Linked DNA regions of Homo sapiens: all the other regions are linked to region 2. The links are contacts of gene promoters, found by promoter capture Hi-C in blood cells and fetal thymus (Javierre and others, 2016). All regions are on one chromosome and are shown on one strand. Each heading gives the region's core, a stretch centred on a gene start or on the middle of the fragment in contact. The rest is flanking DNA. Distances are from core to core; before and after follow the strand shown. Region 1 holds the start of FZD4 (frizzled class receptor 4). Region 2 holds the start of TMEM126A (transmembrane protein 126A). Region 3 holds the start of ME3 (malic enzyme 3).

What was found. The method cuts DNA at HindIII sites, captures the fragments that hold promoters and counts their contacts. A CHiCAGO score of 5 or more calls a contact.
Region 1: the fragment with the promoter of FZD4 here is called in contact with the fragment with the promoter of TMEM126A in region 2 in 2 of 17 cell types (M0 macrophages and M1 macrophages); the score reaches 8.7 in M0 macrophages.
Region 3: the fragment with the promoter of ME3 here is called in contact with the fragment with the promoter of TMEM126A in region 2 in 4 of 17 cell types (M2 macrophages, fetal thymus, M1 macrophages and 1 more); the score reaches 10.5 in M2 macrophages.

The regions. Positions count from the first base shown.
Region 1 is chr11:86,954,142-86,957,192 of GRCh38, forward strand. It overlaps FZD4 (frizzled class receptor 4), which reads right to left and starts at 1,254. Exons shown (of 2, transcript NM_012193.4): 1 at 660-1,254. The coding sequence starts at 944. FZD4-DT (FZD4 divergent transcript) reads left to right here and starts at 1,480. Exons shown (of 3, transcript NR_038905.1): 1 at 1,480-1,571. RefSeq lists silencers at 932-981, 1,112-1,481, 1,832-1,981. The HindIII fragment of the contact is 4,830 bases long and covers 1-3,051 here.
Region 2 is chr11:85,646,371-85,649,324 of GRCh38, forward strand. It overlaps TMEM126A (transmembrane protein 126A), which reads left to right and starts at 1,597. Exons shown (of 5, transcript NM_032273.4): 1 at 1,597-1,719. RefSeq lists enhancers at 1,358-1,407, 1,578-1,847. The HindIII fragment of the contact is 2,186 bases long and covers 1,518-2,954 here.
Region 3 is chr11:86,671,350-86,674,174 of GRCh38, forward strand. ME3 (malic enzyme 3) reads right to left here and starts at 1,267. Exons shown (of 15, transcript NM_001161586.3): 1 at 975-1,267; 2 at 413-609. The coding sequence starts at 595. The HindIII fragment of the contact is 7,449 bases long and covers 1-2,150 here.

The sequences.
Region 1 (3,051 bases), core at 4-2,503, 1.3 Mb after region 2:
CTCTATCATTAGATATGCTTTACATTTTTTAATGACTGCAAAAAAATTTCTTCCAATATACCAACCACCTTCCTGCAGCTTCTTCTCACCCTCCAAGCATTAAACGTGCCTTCAACTGTGAGGATAAGAAAGAACTCAAGCCAACCCAACCACTCCTTCATGCATGACCTCTAAAACGCTGCGGGACGTCGTGAGAAGGGGCTATTCAGCAGAAAAAGGTGCAGTAGTGTTTCATTTAATAACACCCCAAAAATAGTGGGGAGAAGGAAGTTCGGTGAAGGATGGTCTCCTTATCACTCCCTCCAAGTCTTAGCTGCAGCTGGCTCCCTCCCACTCGCCCACCGAGCAGTGGCGGCCAGAATCCTTGGCAGAGATAACCCTCAGCTCCACTGGGGTTAGGGGTCTGGGCCAGACATGGGTGGGCAAGAGAGAAAAACGGAAGGGCGGGGTGTAAGAGTGGGTTCTTTCCCAGGCCAGATGACTTACACAACGTTTTGGCTTCCAGTCCCTGAGAAAGTGGGGGTGGGGATGGAAATCACTTTTCCAGGAGAGCTGTCTCCTTCGGGCTAGGATGATCAACTTGGCATGGGCTCTGCAAAGTTAGTTTGGAGCGTCCCTCCCCAAGGGGTCCCGCCAGGGGTGGGGGTGGGGGCGCCCACCTGCAGCTGGCTGGAGCAGCCGTACTGGATGAGCGGTGTGAAAGTTGTCAGCTGCAGCTCGGCGTCCGTCTGCAGCTCGTGCCCAACCAGGTTGGGCATCTTGGTCACGTTGTAGCCGAGGTTCTGGCACATGGAGATGCGGATGGGGTCGCAGCGCCGCTCTTCCTCGTCCCCGAAGCCCCGCGCCGGCCCCAGGAGCAGCAGCAACTGCAGGAGCAACCCCAGACTGAGACCGACGCCCCCGGGCGCCCCCGGGACGCTCGGCCCTGCGCCCCGCCAGGCCATGGCCAGCATCGGGGGTAGCAGCGGCAGCGGCTGGGGCTGCTCTGGCAGACACCCCCAGTTTGCACGGGGGCGCCGGCTGCCCGCGCTGCTCCCAGCTCCCGGGACGGGAGTGTGATGCGGCGACGAGGGGGCAGCGGCCGGCTCTCCAGCAGCTGCGCGCGACTGTGTGGGATTTTAGACGTCCCGGGCCGAGGCCGAGGGACAGGCTGCGAGGGTCATGGCTGCAGGCGGCGAGCCCACAAGCCGGCGCCGGCCGCGTCCGTTCGGCGTCTCCGCGAGGCCAGCCAGCAGCCAGCGCTGCGCAGCTCTCACCGCCGGAGCCCTGCGCGGCGCTGGAGGCTCGCGGCGCGGCGGCGGGGCGGGACGGACAGCGGGCCTCTCCAATGGCCGGGCGCGGTGGGCAGCTAGGGGCGAGGCGGCGGGGCGGGGCCGCTCTCCCGCAGGAGGAGTCAGGCCCCCGCCCTCCGGCCCCCTCCTCCGGCCGCCCCTCCCTCCCTCCCTCCCCTAGCGCCCCGCCCCGCCCGCCTCCCGGCTCTTGCTTTCCTCCCACCCGGATCTAGGCGCGCAGGGGCCAAGCAGGGACGCAGCCCAGTGGCTCCAGCCACGCCGTCCTGCCCCCTTCTGCAGGTGAGAAGTGCGCCCTGTTCCATCTGCCCCCTTTCCTTCCTGTCTCCTTTCAGCTGTAACCTAGGCCGGTGGCCACCTCCCCGTCAGGCAGAGAAACGTACACAAAGAATTGGGGATTTGGATTTACACCGATTGTGGCTTTCAGTCCCGGTTGTGTGACCTTGAGCAAATTGCTCAACCCCTCGGCGTCAGTCTCCTCTGTAAAGTCACTTGGGAGGATTAGAGATAAAGTGTAGAAGGCTTAGCATGGTGCCTGGTACTGCGTGAGTCCACAGCTATTTTCACTCCGGACCAGCGGCGATCGGGGCCCGGCCTCTCCCCGCCCCCAGACTCGCCCGACCTGCGCAGGGAGCCGCCCACCTCCAGCCGCCAGCGGGGAGGCGCCCCAGAGCTGCGGAGCTGCAGACCCGCCGACGGTCTCGCGCTCTGATTTCCTCACCGTATGAAATGAAATTCCACAGGGGGATTCGAAAGGAAATGAGACCGGGACTCTCCGTGCTTCTCGGCCCGCCGCCCTTCCTGTCTCGGGGACACGGTTTCTAAATAAGGTTGGGAGGGTGAGAGGGCGGGAGGGGAGAGGCTTGACCTGTGCACTGGGGACGAGGAAGGCGCACAACCACCGTGACTCCTCTCTCCCGGCCTCCCGGGCACCCCCTCCCCACCAGGCTGCACCCCTTTTTTTCTTTGCTTCTGCTTCGGCTCCTAGGGATCTGGGGATCATGTGACCCAGGTTTGAACCCAACTTTCCTGTCTCATTACCAGCCCCCCGCGGCTTTGTGCTGGTCCACCCTCTCTCTGCTTTCCAGTCGGCCAGTAAACTCCCAGCAGGTGGATTCCTCCACCGTTTACTTGTTGCTTGACTGTGTTGAAGCTATGGTGCCTCTCTGAGCCTCAAAGTGGCCGGCTGTAAAGTGGGGAAGTTCATATCCACCTCACACAGTTGTTCTAAGAGTTCAGTGAGATAATACCTGTAAATCATTTAGCAGTGTCTGACACATAATAAATGCTGAAGAACTTGGTGATTGGGGTGTGTGTGTGTGTGTGTGTGTGTGTGTGTGTGTGTGTATGTGTTTCCAAAACAGCTAGGGGAGATCAATTATGGGACAGCCTCCTGCTTTCCAGCCTGGTGCTAAAGACAGCTCCAGCAGCCCCGGAATGAGGATCTGGGTAAAAGGCTTTTCACCCTCTTCCTGAGATCTTTTTGTCCAACACTTGCCACTGTTTTATGCATGTTTTTATCCTCCCATTTCAGCCAATTCTGTGGCATATGGCAGAGGCTAGATGCAAGTTGGAAGAATGTCTGTGCCACTCATGTGACACTCATATTCTGTCTTGTATTTTTAGTCTTCTTATATTGGCAACGAGACTTGACTGAGGGCAAAAATGGAATCAACTTTTTTTTGGTATTTGGCTCTGTGCCTAGAACTGTGTTGGACACGGAGAAGCTGCATTGTCTCCAGTCATCATCATAAACTCCCAG
Region 2 (2,954 bases), core at 347-2,846:
TACTAAAAAATAAGCCGAGGCTGGGCACGGTGGCTCACGCCTGTTATCCCAGCACTTTGGGAGGCCGAGGCGGGTGGATCACGAGGTCAGGAGATAGAGACCATCCCGGCTAACACAGTGAAACCCCGTCTCTACTAGAAATACAAAAAAATTAGCCAGGCGTGGTGGCAGGAGCCTGTAGTCCCAGCTACTTGGGAGGCTGAGGCAGGAGAATGCTGTGAACCCAGGAGGCGGGGCTTGCAGTGAGCCGAAATCACACCACTACACTCCAGCCTGGGTGACAGAACGAGACTCAGTCTCAAAAACAAAAAAAAAAATCAGCTGATCAGCTGGGCGTGGTGGCACACGCCTGTAATCCCAGCTACTCTGGAGGCTGAAGCAGGAGAATCGCTTGAACCTGGAAGGCAGAAGTTGCAATGAGCTGAGATCAGGCCATTGCACTCCAGCCTGGCCGACGAGAGCAAAACTCTGTCTAAAAAATAAAAAATAAAAATAAAAAAAAGACTAGGAATTTTCCTTCTTGTACACCTTCGTGAAAATAAGTCTTTCTATTTGTGCAAGTTTAGAAACTGCAATTACAGACTTCTTGGCACTATGGAGCCTAATGGTCAAGCAACCCTGCAATGGAGAGACAGTATAAAAATTATCTGGACAATGCAACACTTTATCACTTGTTCAGAAATTTGAGAGGATGAGAATAATTAAGATTTCTGATAATGTGTTATGATCATGTATTTATTGCTACAGTTAGTTATATATTTTTTGGCACAATGTTTACCTGCTAATCTTAATGGAGTTAAGATAAAATTCAATTGTAGGCATTTTTCCCTTCTATTGGGTTAATTAGTCCAAGCGAACTGAGCAAAGGTTGCAGGGAGCCCCAGCATGGCTGAGGAAGACCTGGTGAGGCATCCACTGGCTGCTGGGAGGAGAGCATTAGAGGTACCTTCTGAACAGCACTGTCCAATAGAAATATAATGCAAGCCACATATATAATTCTAAATTTTCTAGTATTTATACTTAAAAAGCAAGAAGAAATAAGATGACTTTCACCCAACACTGCTTCCAAATAAGCAGTACTCTGGAGAACACGAGAAATCCTCAGAAAAATAAGCTGCAGCTCTGAGGTGCTGATTATGGTAGGGCAATCAATACAGATCAAAACATGGCACAGGGAGCTTAAGTTCCTAGGGAGAGTAGAAAATCGATAGAGCCAAGAAATAGCTCACCTTTGACTTATTTTTAACCTGAGTAGCTATCATATGCCAAGAGCTGTGCAGTTTTCATTTACCCCATGCCAAGAACGTAAGTAGGCTCTACTGACCAGGAAGTTAAGTAATATGCCCGAGGTACGTTTTCAATGGAAGAGGCTGACTGAGGGTCACCCAACTTATATCTCGAAATTTCACAATTTCTACAAGTTCTGTCCTGGGAGGCAAGAGTAGGTGAAACGAGCACACTCTACGCCAGGCAAACAAACCTCAACGCTTAGCCTCCCGGCACCTCCTAGGGCCGGAAGCTTCTCAGCCCAAAGCCGCTGCTGGCTGCAACCTCCGTCCCGCAGTCCAATTAGCAGCCGCGACCCGGCGCCCGCCCACGCCGCGTCACGAGTCAGCCAAAGATGGCTGCGCCCAGGTAATTTGAGCAAAGGCCACAGTGAACTCCGGCGTGGCTGAGGAAGGAGGAGGCACCCACAGGCTGCTGGGAGGAGAGCATAAGGTACTGGTATTCCGGGGGAGGGGGTGAAGTAAATGTCCCGGTGTCAGGAGAAGCACGACGCGGTGACACGCTAGCTACCAGCAGCGCTGCGCGTAAATGAGAGCAAGTAGAAGTGTAGTTAGCTCTTCCTGCTGTCTTTTCACTTTGCACTCTAGAAGGAAAGACCTTATATTTAAATTAACTCAGTAGAAAGGAGAAATGCCTGAGATTGAATTTAATCCCAGGTTTACTGTCAATTTACAAGGTGACCACGGCCAAATTTGATTTTCAGAGGTCCCACTTTACTTCTCTTTCAGATAGGCCCCACACTGCCTATCTCTCAGAGCTCTTCCAAGAATGACATGAGATAGGTAACACAAAAATCTTTCGAAATATTTGTAGTTTTTACAGGCGGCGTTGTCTTTGATAGATATTTGTTATTAATATCGGAGACAAAATGCCCACAGGGGCTGCCCAGTCAGCACTTATACTGAATTGAGTGACTTAATTGCCCTCAGTACAATATATACATACTAAATTTGATTATATATTTCACCACCCCATACACAAAATCATTCAGAGCTCCTGTACAGCAGAGATTGTGTCTTATCATCTTATCGTAGCCAAGGCCCTCAAAAATTTGACTACCAGAAACCTAGACATAAATTTCTAAGGCTGCTTTGTACTTATTAGGTTAGCTTTAAGTCTAGAGATATGGAATGTCAAGGTAATCAACATTTCCAAATGACCTCTTATCGATATAAAACAGGTAGCAATAAATATTTAAACGAGTGCCTGTAATGTTGTAGGAAATGAGAAAATCTGGTTTCATAAAAGCATGTTTTCCTTTGTTGTTATCCCTGAACTGTTTTTTTTTTTTTTTTTGTAGACCGAGTCTCGCTCTCACCCAGGCTGGAGTGCAGTGGCGAGATCTCGGCACACTGCAACCTCCACCTCCCAGGTTCAAGCGATTCTCCTGCCTCAGCCTCCCGAGTAGCTGGGATTACAGGCAGCTGCCGCCGTGCCTGGCTAATTTTTGTATTTTTAAAAGACAGGGAGTTTCACCATGTTGGCCAGGCTGGTCTCGAACTCCTGACCTCAGGTGATCCGTCTGCCTTGGCCTCCCAAGGTGCTGGGATTACAGGCGTGAGCCACTGCATCCAGCCTTTGTTTTTCTTAACTGTTACCCTGAAACCTGAGCCAAATCTTCATCATTCACCATTCCCTTCACATTTTCACCCTAACTAGTGCAGACA
Region 3 (2,825 bases), core at 17-2,516, 1.0 Mb after region 2:
GCATTTTCTCTTTAGATCTCACGACATTCCTAAGACAATTATATCTCTTTTACAGATAAGGAAACCTAGGCTCATGTAGGTTAAATGAACTGCCCAAGACCAATAAAATTAGTAAGCATCAAGGGGAGAGCTGACCGCAGGTCAGACTGACCGCGAGGATCTAAACCTGGTCTGTGTTGTTACTGCAGAAGAAATTAGGCTCCCTGCATTACTGGTCGCCTCTCTCCACGCATAAAAGGGAGAGGAGGGACAAGAAAGCCAAACCAAGTCACAACAAGCCCCTGCAAGGCAAAAACAGAAAAACCGCTGGAAGGGCGCCCGGGAGGATCCTTTCTGGGTCCAGGGGGCGGGGCGCAATTTTCCGGCAGCCACGGGATCGCAACGCGGGCCGTCCTGCCCTCTGGCCCATTACCTTGTTGAGATGAGGGTTCCTGGTGACATCGTATCCGCGCTTCTTCAGGGGCACAGGGCGCGCCGGGCCAGGCTTGGAGTGGCAGCCTTGGGCGGGCGCGGTGGGTGTCCAGCGCGGGAGGGCGCCGCAGGCCCGGCCCGGCCAGGGAGCCAGCCGCGTGCCTGTCCCCAGCGCGGCACCCATGGTCCTTGGCAGACCTGGCACGGGAGAGAAAGCAAGGTCAGGGCCTCCTTCCAGCCAGCCAGGACCCACGCGCGCTGCGGGGCACCGGGCCTGATCCGGGGACGCGCCCTCTGGGAGAGGGCAGGTGCTCCCAAAGGGTTAAATGTTCCAGCCCCCGCCACTCCTCGGCTGCCACCTGCTCGGCTCCGCGCGGGGCGCCAGGCCTAGCCAAGAGCCAGGCAAAGCGAAACCAAGCCCTGGAAGCAGATCCGGTGCGGGTGACAGCCGGCGCCACCCCTGCCCCCATCCCTGTGAAAAAGAGGCGACTGCGCGGCGAGGGGTCCCCGTACCCCTAATCCCGCGTGGTGGCTTGCCTCGGTCCTCTCCTTCCCTGGCCCACCTGCGCTGCTCGGGGAGCTGAGGTCTACGCGGTCCCGCTGCGGAGCAGGCGGGGTGAGGAGCTGCGGTCTGTGAGTCCTCTCCCGCCAATGGGTGGACCGCGCTGGCGGCCGCGAGCTCGCGGAGCTGGTGAGTTCCTCAAAGAGCGGTCCCACAACCTTTGTTCTCAGTGCCTGGCTTCCCCTGAGGACGCGCGTGGGGCGCCTCAGCACTGCGTGCACGTGGTTTTCCCCAGTGACAAGAAGCAGCTCAGAATGCCCGCCTGAGACTCTCCATCTTGGCAAGACTAAATGCACAGAGGGGGATTTGCGTTTGGGGGTCAGCATATCCTCGCACTCTCCCAACATTCGGGGAAGGGCGTGCCTTCAGGATTTGGAGTAGAAATCCTCAGGCATTCGGTGCTCAGTGTTGCCTTGTGCTGTCCAATATAATAGCCATTCGCCACGTGTGGCTATATAAACGTAAATAAATTAGTCTATATAGAATAAAATTTAACATCCAGTTCTGCAGTCACGCTAGCCACATTTCCAGTTCAAGAGCCACTTGTATGCAGATACAGAACATTTCTGTTTTTGCGGATACTTCTATTAAGCATCATTGACATAGGAGCCACAGTTACTAAGAGGACTTCTGAGGACCCCATGGAGTTTGCCATGGGTTATTGGGGCCAGACAGGGATCTTGGGGTCCATCTAGCCCCAAACTTAATTTTATACTTTCTCCACACAGTAGTCAGGAGATTCCTTTTAAAGCAAACACTTTGTTGTGTGTGGAATAAAATCCAAACTTTCAGGGCCTACAAGATTTCCCATAAACTGGCTCTTGCCAGCCTCTTCAGACTTATCCTACTCTACTCTTTCCTTCTCACTGATCTCTGGCCATACTTGATCCTTCCTGTGTCTTCACCCCACTTGGTTCCCTCCCACTGCAGGGCCTTTGCACTTGCTATTGCCTCTCCTTGGAAGGCTCATACTCCAGCCTTGCAAACCACTACTTCATTCCCACCTCTCAGTTCTCCACTAAGTTGTCAACTCGAAGGCCTTTCCTCTATCCCATTCAATGTCAGCCTGCACTAGGAACTATAGAGTGAAGGGGTTTTTCTCTTTAGAGAACTTAACACAGTCAGTAGCGCGCTTGTTTTTCTGATTGTTTACTGACTATCTCCTGTCTAGAATGTAAGCTTCATGAAGAGAGGCTCTTTGCCTGTGAACCTGTGTGTCCTCACTGCCTAGCTCACTGCCTGGTATGTAGTTGCACAATAAATAGTTGTTAGGTGAAGGGAAGTGGCAGCCACTTTCATAAGGATCGTGAACCCTTAGACTTACTGACAGACAGTTGGCACGGTCCTCTGCTGACACCCCTTCAAAGCTCCCGGTGCCAGCATTAGCCCCGTTGTAAGTACCAAGCAGACATCATGGCCCATAATGTGCTAAGGGGTGCTCCTGCCTGAGTTCAGGATTCCCTCATCCCTTCAGGAATAATCGTCTCCTCCTGCAGTCTCTCTCCTCCCTGTGTAATATCTAATTTTCAACTTGAATGATCTACGTAAAATAGTTATTTCCAAAACAGAATTACAATTACCTGGTAGGAAATAAGGATGGGGCAAAAATACAGCTTTCCAGGCCCCATCCATGAAGATTCTCATCCAGTAGGGTTTACATCCCTGAAGTCAGGTTTACTCTTGGACTGCATATTTACATAAGCTTATAAATGATCTTTTTTTCTGCCTTAAACCAGTTTGTGTCAGATGTGTGATTGTGTGCAACCAATAGTATTAACTAAATCCTTTCAACACTATTTTTATATTGGCACTTCTTCCCACCAGTCAACATCTTTGGGGGGCAGAGATCATG